4 separate regions of the Homo sapiens genome follow, and all the other regions are linked to region 2. Evidence: promoter capture Hi-C in 16 types of primary human blood cells and fetal thymus (Javierre and others, 2016). All regions are on one chromosome and are shown on one strand. Each heading gives the region's core, a stretch centred on a gene start or on the middle of the fragment in contact. The rest is flanking DNA. Distances are from core to core; before and after follow the strand shown.

Region 1 (2,700 bases), core at 149-2,648, 170 kb after region 2:
AAGAGAAAAATGAGGAAGAAGCAAAAGCAGAAACCCCTGATAAACCCATCAGATCTCATGAGACTTATTCACTATCACGAGAATAGCATGGGAAAGACCGGCCCCCATGATTCAATTACTTCCTCCTGGGTCCTTCCCACAACACGTGGGAATTCTGGGAAATACAATTCGAGATGTGGGTGGGGACACAGCCAAACCATATCACATGGGAATAGTTTTTTTTCAATGTAGATATAATTAAAAGTAAAAAGCATGTGTCCTTCCTTTTCTAAATTAATTTTTTTTGGGGGATAAGCAATTGATGAGGGAAAGTCTCTCTAGGAATATTACGATTAATAAACTGAAAGTGATAATAACATCAGTATATTACAGTTTTGTAGCCCTTAATGAATATCAGCAGTGATCATCACTTGCTGCTAACATCTGAGACACCCAGACAGTATGTGTGTATCATTAGAAGTACACACCTATAAAGTAGTTTTGTCCCACTCTTCCCCCAAAAGTTAAATCTAAACCAGTCACTTCTGTAATTACAATTTGTGAGAAATAACAGGGAACAAAGGAGCATGTTAAATGGTACCATGAGGATGCAATATCAGAGTCTAATGCTGGAAACCAACAGGACAGATAACCCTATTTCTTCTACAAAAATAAATTTGTAAAGAAAAAACTAATGAAGATGGACCCCAGAGATCACAACAGATTTAAGGAGAAAGCAGCCAATTAAAATGTATGGCGCTCATTTAGATTGTGATTCAAACTGTAAAAGCAAAATGAAACTTCTGTAAGACACTTGGGGTACATAGGAACAACCAACTGAATACTTGATGATATTAAAGAATCATTTTCACTTCTTTAGGCATAATGTACATAAGCTTATGTTCTAAACATGAGTTTTTATCTTTTAGAGGCACACACTAAAGAATTTACCCATGAAATTGTATGAAATCTGGAATTTGCTTCACATTAACATGGATGAGGGTATAGATGAAACAACATGGCCATGAGTTGATAAGTGTTGAAGCTGAATGATGAGCACATGAGGGTTCATTATATTGTTTTATTTATTTATTTATGTAATTTAAAGTGACAGGGTCTCCATCTGTCACCCAGGCGAGAGTGCAGTGACACAGTCTTAGCTCGCTGCAGCCTCAAACTCCTGTGCTCAAGTGATTCTCCTGCCTCATCCTCCCTGCCCCATCCCGCAACCCCCAAAGTAGTTAGGACGACAGGCACGGACCATGCCAAGCTAATTTTTAAATTTTTTTCATAAAAATGTAGTCTCGCTATGTTGCCCAGACTGGTCTCAAACTCCTGGCCTCAAGCAATCCTCCCACCTTGGCTTCCCAAATTACTGAGATAACAAGGTGTGAGCCACCGCACCCAGCCAGGAGTGCAGCTTTTAAAAGAGTAGTTCCAGGCCGGGCGTGGTGGCTCACGCCTGTATTCCCAGTGCTTTGGGAGGCTGAAGCAGGTGGATCACCAAGTCAGGAGTTCGAGACTAGCCTGGTCAACATGGTGAAACCCTGTCTCTACTAAGAATACAAAAAATTAGCAAGGTGTGATGGCTCACACCTGTAATCCCAGCTACTCTGGAGGCTGAGGCAGGAGAATAGCTTGAACCCGGGAGGCAGAGGTTGCAGTGAGCCAAGATCACGCCACTGCACTCCAGCCTGGGTGACAGAGCGAGACTCCATCTCAAAAAAAGAAAAAAAAAAGTTCCTTTATTTTTGTATATACTTGAAATTTTTCATTATAAAACATTTAAATGATGTGATTACAAAGATGAGAAACAAATAGCATCAGAAATGAGTAGGTAAATTTAAAAAGCAAATTAGCCATCTTAAACTAAAATAAATTGTGTAAGTCAGATATTCAGTTGATGGGTTACATGAATTAGACATAATTAAATAGTGAATTGCAAGCTTTGTAAAAAATTTACCTGAAATATTATAGAGACAAGGAGACAAATGAATCAACAGACTTAGGAAGTACCATGTATTCCAAGCTGGAAAAGTAAAAAGAAATCCATACCTACATACATTATAGTAGAACTACAAAATAGCAAAGGCAAAGGTATCTTAAAGCATCCATTTCAGTCAGGGTACTGTCAGGAAAACAGAAATAACACTAGGTATTTCAGAAAAGCAAATTTGATTTAGAGAATTGATGACGTTGTAGAGGGCTGAAAGAGAAAAAGGAAACAAGGAAGTAAACTAAAGATAACTGTAGGGAACAGCTCCCACCTCTAGGTGTGGAAAAGGGCAGCAAGTGATTAGGGTTTTCAGAATTTAGAAGTTTACAGGAGAAACTGAGGAGCTGGAGCTCTTGCTTCCACAGAGAGGGACAGCCTTGTGGCAGAAGGGTGCAGTGAGCCTGGGTCTGGGAGTGCTTAAAGAACCTGGAGACTAGAGTGCTGTTGCTGGAATAACACTGACAGGAGCAGCATGCAAATAGGAAGAAAGAAGTCCCTTCTCCCTCTTGCCTTCCAATCTTCTAGTGCACATGTTTGCTGAACCTAACAAGAAGCCTGTTAACAAAGGAGAAATGTGGTTTGCAGAGTGCCAGCAGTTATCGCAAAGCAGATTTGGACCTGAAAGACAATAGCTCAATAAGTATCACAGTAGCCATGTATTCATTCACTCATTCATTTATTCATTCATTCAGCAAATGGTTAGTAGAAGCTTACTATATGCCATT
Region 2 (2,700 bases), core at 113-2,612:
ACTCCTGACCTCAAGTGATCCACCCAACTCAGCCTTCCAAAGTGCTGAGATTACAGGCGTTAGCCACCGCACACGGCTATATATATATATAATATTATTATATAAATATAATTATCTTAATATATAAATATATATTATTATCTTAATATATATAATATATATTATTATCTTAATATATATAATATATTATTATCTTAATATATATTATTATCTTAATATATAATTATATAATAATATACAATATATAATATATATTATATATATAATTGTATATATAATATAATATATAATATATATTATAATATTAATATCATAATATTATATATGATATATAAATATAATAATATATTAATATATATTAAGATAATAATATTAATATATTAATTATATAATTAATATATTATATATAATATAAGATAATTATAATATATAATTGATAATATTGATATATTAATTAATATTATATCTCAATATATAGATATATTATAATTATATTATATAATTAATGTATTAATTAATATTATTATCTTAATATATATTAATATAATATTATTATATTTATATTATATATTATATATTTATATATTAATATAATATTATTATATTTATATTATATATTATATATTTATATATTAATATATAATGTTATATATTATATAATATATAATATTATATATTAATATATAATATTATATATTATATAATATATAAAATTATTATATATTAATATATAATGTTATATATTATATAATATATAAAATATTATATATTATATCATATTATATATATAATTTCATTTAAACTTGTATCTTAGAAATTCTTATCAGTAAGCGTACGTGATTTCATTTATTTATTATTCTTTTGGATACTGGACATAATCAGGTGGCCCCAATTCTTTACACTGGCAGCAAAGATAAGCAAATTCTTCCAGCAGGCCAAATTTGACCCCGCACTTGATGAGCGTGGTGGACACAGAGGGTTTTTTAATAGCATAGGAATGTTTTTTGCTTCCCACCGGACCCACTAGCCTCTAGTGCCACCGATTAATATTACCTTCCTTGAATCAGGAGGAAACCATTTGTGACTTCTCATATGTAAGATCTTCTAAGGGCAGAAACGCAATTGTCTTTGTATTCACTTCCCCGCCCACCCACACCCCTTCCATGGAGAGCCTGCAGCCAAGCTCAAGCTTTCAAAAAGGCGTGAGCTAATTCAATCATCCTTGCCGCTTTTTTGCTCCTCCAGGCTGTAGAGGGCGACAAAAACCGCGGAGGCGCATTGGGGTGGGGGGTGTCTACTGAAGGCCGCTCCCGACGTGCGCGTCTTTACGTAGACGTCGGGGGCGCAGCCGCGCTGTGCGCGGTGACTGGCGGCTGCACTGGCGGCAGCTGGAGGTGTAATAGTGCGGGTAGTGGGTTTGGAGAAGTTCCGAGGCGGCGGTGGCGCCGGTCAGGACAAGGATAGCGGAACCGGGCCCTGGGCTTGTCGCTCACCATGCCGACAGTAGAGGAGCTTTACCGCAATTATGGCATCCTGGCCGATGCCACGGAGCAAGTGGGCCAGGTGAGTTGAGTCCCCGGGCGGCCTGCAGGGCCTGGCGCTCCGCGGCCTTTCGAAAGCGCTTCCCGCCGCACTCCCCGGGCCGAGCGGGGGCTGCGGCTTCATCCTCCCGGGGCCTCCTAGCCTCCTCAGGCCGTCTCGTCGGGGTGGGCCTCTCTGGGAGTGTAGACTCTGGTTTCACCAGGGAGACCGCGGTCCCCAGGGTTCCAGGCTTCCTTGCCTCCCTTGCCCAGCCTTTTCTCACCGTGGCGTAACCTAACTCAGCCCGTTCAGGCTCACGTTAATTCTTCTCACGGAGCTTTTCTCTACAGGATTCTCTTAAGCCTTTCTCCTTTTCGGTGGAGCTCAGTGCTTCCAAGATTAGATCGGGAGTTTTCTTCATGAGGTCAAGATGTGTTTTTTTTGGGGGGGAGGCAAAATTCTGCTACTAATTGAAGAAGAGTGTTTAGGAGACAGAAGTTTGTGAGAAACAGAAGAGGGACTCTTTGGTCCAGACTTTGATGAGAGCTCACGGTTTCATTTATTCAGTGCATTTTTTTGAGTGCCGAGCGCTGGAGATACAGATGGAAAGGTCCGCGCTCTCCCAGAATGTACAGTTAGGAGGGAGTGTAGTAAGAAAGATAGGCATTGTGAGGCCCGGCTTGGTGGCTCACGCCTGTAATCCGAGCACTTTGGGAGGCCGAGGCGGGCGGATCACGAGGTCAGGAGTTCGAGACCAGCCTGACCCACATGGTGAAACCCTGTCTCTACTAAAAATACAAAAATTAGCCGGGCGTGGTGACACGCGCTTGTAATCCTAGCTACTCAGGAGGCTGAGGTGGGAGGATTGCTTGAACCCGGGAGGCAGAGGTTGCGGTGAGCCGAGATCGCTTCACTGCACTCCAGCCTGGGAGACAAAGCAAGACCCCGTCTCAAAAAAAAAAAAAAAGGTTTTTTTTAAAAATTTATTCTTTTTAATGAAACATGTTTGAAGAAAATAAAACAGGGCTGGGCGAAGGAGAGTGTGAGTGCGCAGCTCTGAATGGAGTTGTCTGGAAGAGCTCTCTTAACGATGCTTGCCCCCGATACACAGTTTCTCAGCAGTGTTGAATTATCCATACAAGTCATTTGTTCCCTGTATGAGTTTTCAAGTACTGGAGT
Region 3 (2,700 bases), core at 21-2,520, 150 kb after region 2:
CTGAGGGCTCCAAGAGGGTGAAAGCAGAAGCATCTGGGCTAGGCCTCTTAGAGCCTGTGCATAAAACTGAAACAGCACTACTTCATCCATGCTGCCTTTCAAAGCAAGTCCCGGGGCCTGCTCAAAATTACAGGCAGGGAAAATATCCTCTACCTGATGGTAGTGACAAAGAATATGTGTCCCATCGTTAATTCACCAGTTGCCTTCACAGTTGCAACAATGAGACTGTTAGCTTTTAAACAGAAATGATAAAAACTAGAAGCCGGCCGGGCGCGGTGGCTCACGCCTGTAATCCCAGCACTTTGGGAGGCCGAGGCGGGTGGATCAGGAGGTCAGGAGATTGAGACCGTCCTGGCTAACAAGGTGAAACCCCGCCTCTACTAAAAATACAAAAAATTAGCCGGGCGCAGTGGCGGGCGCCTGTAGTCCCGGCTACTCGGGAGGCTGAGGCAGGAGAATGGCGTGAACCCGGGAAGCGGAGCTTGCAGTGAGCCGAGATTGCGCCACTGCAGTCCGCAGTCCGGCCTGGGCGACAGAGCGAAACTCCGTCTCAAAAAAAAAAAAAAAAAAAAAAAAAACTAGAAGCCATTGTAACAACATGTTTAAAGTGCTAGAATAAGAAAACTGCAGGCTTAGAATTCTAAACCAGCCAAAATGTTCTTAAAAGATTAAGGCAAAACAAATATGTGTTCAAACAAACAAAAACAGAGACAATTTGGCACCAGTAGGCCTGCACTGAAAAAGTAAAGGAAGTTTATCAGGAAAATAATCCAAGATAGAAATATGGACTTGGAAGAAAGAATGAAGAACACTGGGAAACATATGTAAATGAATAGTAACTGTACAAAATAATAATGGTACACCCTGAGGAGTTTCAATTTTATGTACTGTATATCTAAAATTCATGGTAGCAATAACTTAAATGATGAGAGGGAAGCAAATAGAGTTTAAAAGTCCTAAGGCTTAATTGGTATCAGCCAAGTAGTAAAAGTAATAATTTGCATTGGCCTTAATAAGTAAAAAAGCATGTTTTAAACTCTAGGCTAACAACTAAAAATTATTTTTAAATGTAACTTAATAGAAGGAAAATGGAATCATGTAGAACATTTGATTAATCCAAAGGAAGTCAAGGGAAGATAAAGGTACATAAAAGTAGAGCACAAATAGTACAATGGCGAATATAGACCCAAGCACATCAGTAGTTACATGGAGGAAGACTGTGTAACTTAAGAATTAAATGTAGGCTAGATTAAAAAAAAAAAAAAAACGGCTATATAACTATACCCTTGTCAGAAAAAGTAAACTTTATAATAAGAAGCATTACTGGAGTTAAAGTGGAATATTTTATAACACTAAAGGGATCTGTGGCAGGCTGAATAGTGCCCCCCTACAAAGATATCCACGTTCTAATCCCTGGAACCTGTGAAAACTATATACATACACAGTATGGAAAGAAGAGGACTTTGCAGATAAAATTGAGGATCTGGAGATGGAGCGATTATCCTGGATTATCCAGTTGGGTCCTAAAGCCAATCACATGTATTCTTATAAAGAAGGAGACAGAGACTTAATCCTGAAGAGTAGAAGGCTGTGTGACAATAGAGGCAGAGTTATGCAGCCACAAGCCAAGGAATGCCAGCAGCCACGAGAAACCAGAAGAGGGAAGTAACAGATTCTCTAGATCCTCTGAAGGGAGCACAGCCCTGCTGACACATTGACTTTGACCCAATGATATTGATTTTGGACCTCCTGCCTTAAGAGCTGTGAAGGAATAGATTTTTATTGTTTTAAACCACCAAGTATGTGTTAATTTGTCACAGTAGCTATAGGAAAGTAATATAGATTTAATTCACAAGGTAGGTATGTTCTGTAAACTGTATGCACCAAAGAACATAATCTAAAATATATAAGGTAAACATTGACATAACTGGCAGAAGAAATAGACATATTCCCAATCAAAGTAGATTTGAATAAAATTATAATAACTGATAGCAGTTATTATTGTAGCAGACCAAAAACACCACAATTACAAACTGAACCTAGCTGCCATATGTAAGCACTGAATCCAGCAGTGACAAAATTCTTTTTTTTTTTTGAGACAGAGTCTCACTCTATTGCCCAGGCTGAAGTGCAGTGGTGCTATCTTGGCTCACTGCAACCTCTGCCTCCCAGGTTCAAGTGATTCTCCTGCCTCAGCCTCCCAAGTAGCTGGGACTACAGGCGTGCGCCACCACACCCAGGAATTTTTGTATGTTTTAATAGAGACGGGGTTTCACCATATTGGCCAGGCTGGTCTCAAACTCCTGACCTCATGATCCACCCGCCTCAGCCTCACAAATTGCTGGGATTACAGCTGTAAGCCACCGTGCCCGGCCCAAAATTCATTCTTTTACATGCACAAGGAAGGAACATTTATCATATGTGAACACTTAACATATGACTGAGCCATAAAAAAGGCCTTAACAAATTTCCAAAGATTTAAATTTCTTAGCATGGAAATGGATATTGACCAATACAGATTAAGCCAGAAATCATACAAAATAAAAATAGCTTACAAAATAAAAATAGCATACAAAATAAAAATATCATACAAAAATAAATAGCTTTCATATATACAATTTAAAAAAACAGAAGTTGTAAGAGAATTTTAAAAGAAAATACCTTAGGCAATTTTTTTTTTAATCTCCAAAATTTAAAACT
Region 4 (2,700 bases), core at 92-2,591, 130 kb after region 2:
TTTTCCTCAGTATCTTATTTGTTACTATCCCCTGTATACATTCTTTATTCTAATTAATTTGAAATTGGTAATGCCCTCACATGTGCCTTTACTATCCCTGTATGTATGTGTGTAGACAAATGAGTCTATGCATACATGCTTTAAAAAAAAAAAATTGTTAACTCTGGAAGGCTGGATGCAGTAGCTCACACCTGAATCCAAGCACTTAGAGAGCCTGAGGTGGGCGGATCACCTGAGACCAGGAGTTCAAGACCAGCCTGGCCAACATAGCAAAACCCCATCTCTACAAAAATACAAAAAAAGTAGCCAGGTGTGGTGGCCTGCGCCTATAATCCCAGCTACCTGGGAGGCTGAGGCAGGAGAATCACTTGATCCCAGGAGGCAGAGGTTTAAGTGAGCTGAGATCACACCACTGCATTGCGCTCCAGCCTGGGCAACAGAACAAGACTCTATCTCAAAAAAAAAAAAAAAGTCCCTATGGGGAGTGACCTCCCTGACCCTCTACTCTTATCTGTTTAAATCCTGTCTCAGGTAGTCCGCCTTTCTCTAAGAAGCATTTTGTGATTACATGCAAATATTTTTTCCCTCTAAAAAAAAATTAATTTTTCTCTTATTATTTCATGTATGTAGTTGTCTGTCTCCAACTTGATTATAAATTCATTATATTTCATTTCTTAAGGTTAGAAACTTTCCATTTTTTTTTGTTCCCACCTACAGCTTACAGAGATAGACATATAGTAGGCTGTCAATAAAGTTTGGTTTATTTTTTGCTAACTCAGAGCACACTTATAATCTACTTATTCTTCACCTGTGAGGAGAAAATATAAAAATATGTACATATTTAGTGTTGTTTTTTTAGGAATTGCTTTCGCCCCAACCCCAGCAGCCTTTAGAAAAGCTTAATGGCTACCAGCAACAGAAGCCTTCAGCAAGCTCCATATTCTCTCTTCATTTGAATATCAGTTTCCATTAATGAAAGCCCCTCTCTCTCAGAATTTTTAAATAACGATAAATATTACCATATGGTAGGAGCACAAGGAAGCAATCACCTTGGGTTACTGGGTTTGCAGAACTCTTCGTAGCTAAACAGCATGAATTTTTTCCAATGTGTTGCTTAACGACAGGGATATGTTCTAGGAAATGCGTCCTTGGGTGATTTTGCCGTCGTGGGAACATCATAGAGTGTACTGTACTTACTTACACAAAGCTAGGTGGTATAGCCTACTGCACTCCCGCGTTATATTGTGTAGCTTCTTGCTCCTAGGCTACAAACCTCTACAGCATGTTTATGTACTGCAATACCGTAGGCAAGCGTAACACAATGGTAAATATTTGTGTCTCTAAACATATTTAAATGCAGAAAAGGTACAGGGGAAATACAGTATTATAATTTTATGGCACCACCATGGTATATGCAGTTCATCATTGACCAGAACTTCATTATGTGGTGCATGGCTATAATACCATGTTCTAAATCCCTGAACAAGCCAGAATTACCAACTGAAGATTATTGCACTAGAATAATGAAACTGGCATTTTGTGAGGTATCAACCCAGAGCTCTCAGGTTTTCCTGTGGGTACATGTTACAAAAGGAGACATTTTGTTATTTGTTCTTGTACCCTATCTACTTCCTAAAGGGACTAGGGATGACTTTCATGGAATGCACAGTGTAACATCCAGCCAATTCAAAATAAACAGGAAAAGTTAAGTAGTGAAGAATTTTTTAAAAGAAAGCCTTCTATTAAGAAACTCGGGCTAATTTTGCCTGAGCTTCCTTGTTATTCAAGCTTAGAGGAGAACTCAAGAGGGCTGTGTAACCTTCATTGGATAATAAAGGAAACATACTGAGTTCTCAGGAGAGAGAATTTTTGCTAGGCCATTACACTGAGAGTCTTCCATAGGAGTCTTTATGTAAGAGACTTGAGCCACCTAAATAATATCTTGGTAATCATTTTAGAAAGAAATTATTGTAGTATATTGCTATTTCTTATATCAGCCATTTAGTGAAAAATGGGAGCCTTCATGTAGAATTAGGATAGTTTTCCATTAAACAAATCATTTTTCAATTAAGGCAATTAAGCCAGCTATATGGTCTGGACACACAGCTATGTCCAGATACTTGAATAAACCTTGAAGAATCCCATATATTAAATAACATAATAAGCTTCATCCTTGCCATCTATGTTTTGAATGTAGAGCAAGTGGATCTTTTTTAAAAAATAGTGTATCACATACCTGTCCCCATGCTCGCTAATAACAGAATCTCTGACTGCCTGCTCTCTAGCTGCCACTGTTCTCAGCCAGGCTTTTGGCAAACGCTAGATGACAAAGTTGGTATTTTATTATGTATTTTGAAGATGCTGAATGGAATTTTTATTACATTGGGCTATAGTAGTGCCTCTAAGCAGAGCCAAAACGTTTCTCCAAAAGCAGGGTTGGAGTCACCCAAGGTCTTGAATGAGTACTGTGTACCTTTTACTAACGTGCTGGCCCTTGAATTTCAGGTACGGTGGTTGAGGAGAGCAATGGTTCTGATGAGATGGAGAATTCAGATGAAACCAAAATGTCAGAAGAAATACTGGCTTTGGTGGATGAATTTCAACAGGCATGGCCTTTGGAAGGCTTTGGGGGTGCACTAGAGATGAAAGGGCGGCGTCTAGACTTACAAGGAATACGGGTGCTGAAGAAAGGTCCCCAGG

What was found. The method cuts DNA at HindIII sites, captures the fragments that hold promoters and counts their contacts. A CHiCAGO score of 5 or more calls a contact.
Region 1: a contact is called between a fragment that was not itself captured here and the fragment with the promoter of API5 in region 2, in 1 of 17 cell types (M2 macrophages). The highest score is 6.7, in M2 macrophages.
Region 3: a fragment that was not itself captured here is called in contact with the fragment with the promoter of API5 in region 2 in 1 of 17 cell types (M2 macrophages); the score reaches 5.8 in M2 macrophages.
Region 4: a contact is called between a fragment that was not itself captured here and the fragment with the promoter of API5 in region 2, in 1 of 17 cell types (M2 macrophages). The highest score is 13.6, in M2 macrophages.

The regions. Positions count from the first base shown.
Region 1 is chr11:43,477,540-43,480,239 of GRCh38, forward strand. The region is part of intron 21 of TTC17 (tetratricopeptide repeat domain 17); the gene reads left to right. Among named protein-coding and RNA genes, the nearest start is that of MIR670, 81 kb to the right of the region's middle. The HindIII fragment of the contact is 1,050 bases long and covers 874-1,923 here.
Region 2 is chr11:43,310,634-43,313,333 of GRCh38, forward strand. It overlaps API5 (apoptosis inhibitor 5), which reads left to right and starts at 1,363. Exons shown (of 14, transcript NM_001142930.2): 1 at 1,363-1,563. The coding sequence starts at 1,495. RefSeq lists an enhancer at 1,116-1,891. The HindIII fragment of the contact is 11,672 bases long and covers 1,188-2,700 here.
Region 3 is chr11:43,460,839-43,463,538 of GRCh38, forward strand. All of the region lies in intron 21 of TTC17 (tetratricopeptide repeat domain 17), which reads left to right. Among named protein-coding and RNA genes, the nearest start is that of MIR670, 97 kb to the right of the region's middle. The HindIII fragment of the contact is 5,243 bases long and covers 1-2,700 here.
Region 4 is chr11:43,440,820-43,443,519 of GRCh38, forward strand. TTC17 (tetratricopeptide repeat domain 17) reads left to right here. Exons shown (of 24, transcript NM_018259.6): 17 at 2,506-2,700. Among named protein-coding and RNA genes, the nearest start is that of TTC17, 83 kb to the left of the region's middle. The HindIII fragment of the contact is 890 bases long and covers 897-1,786 here.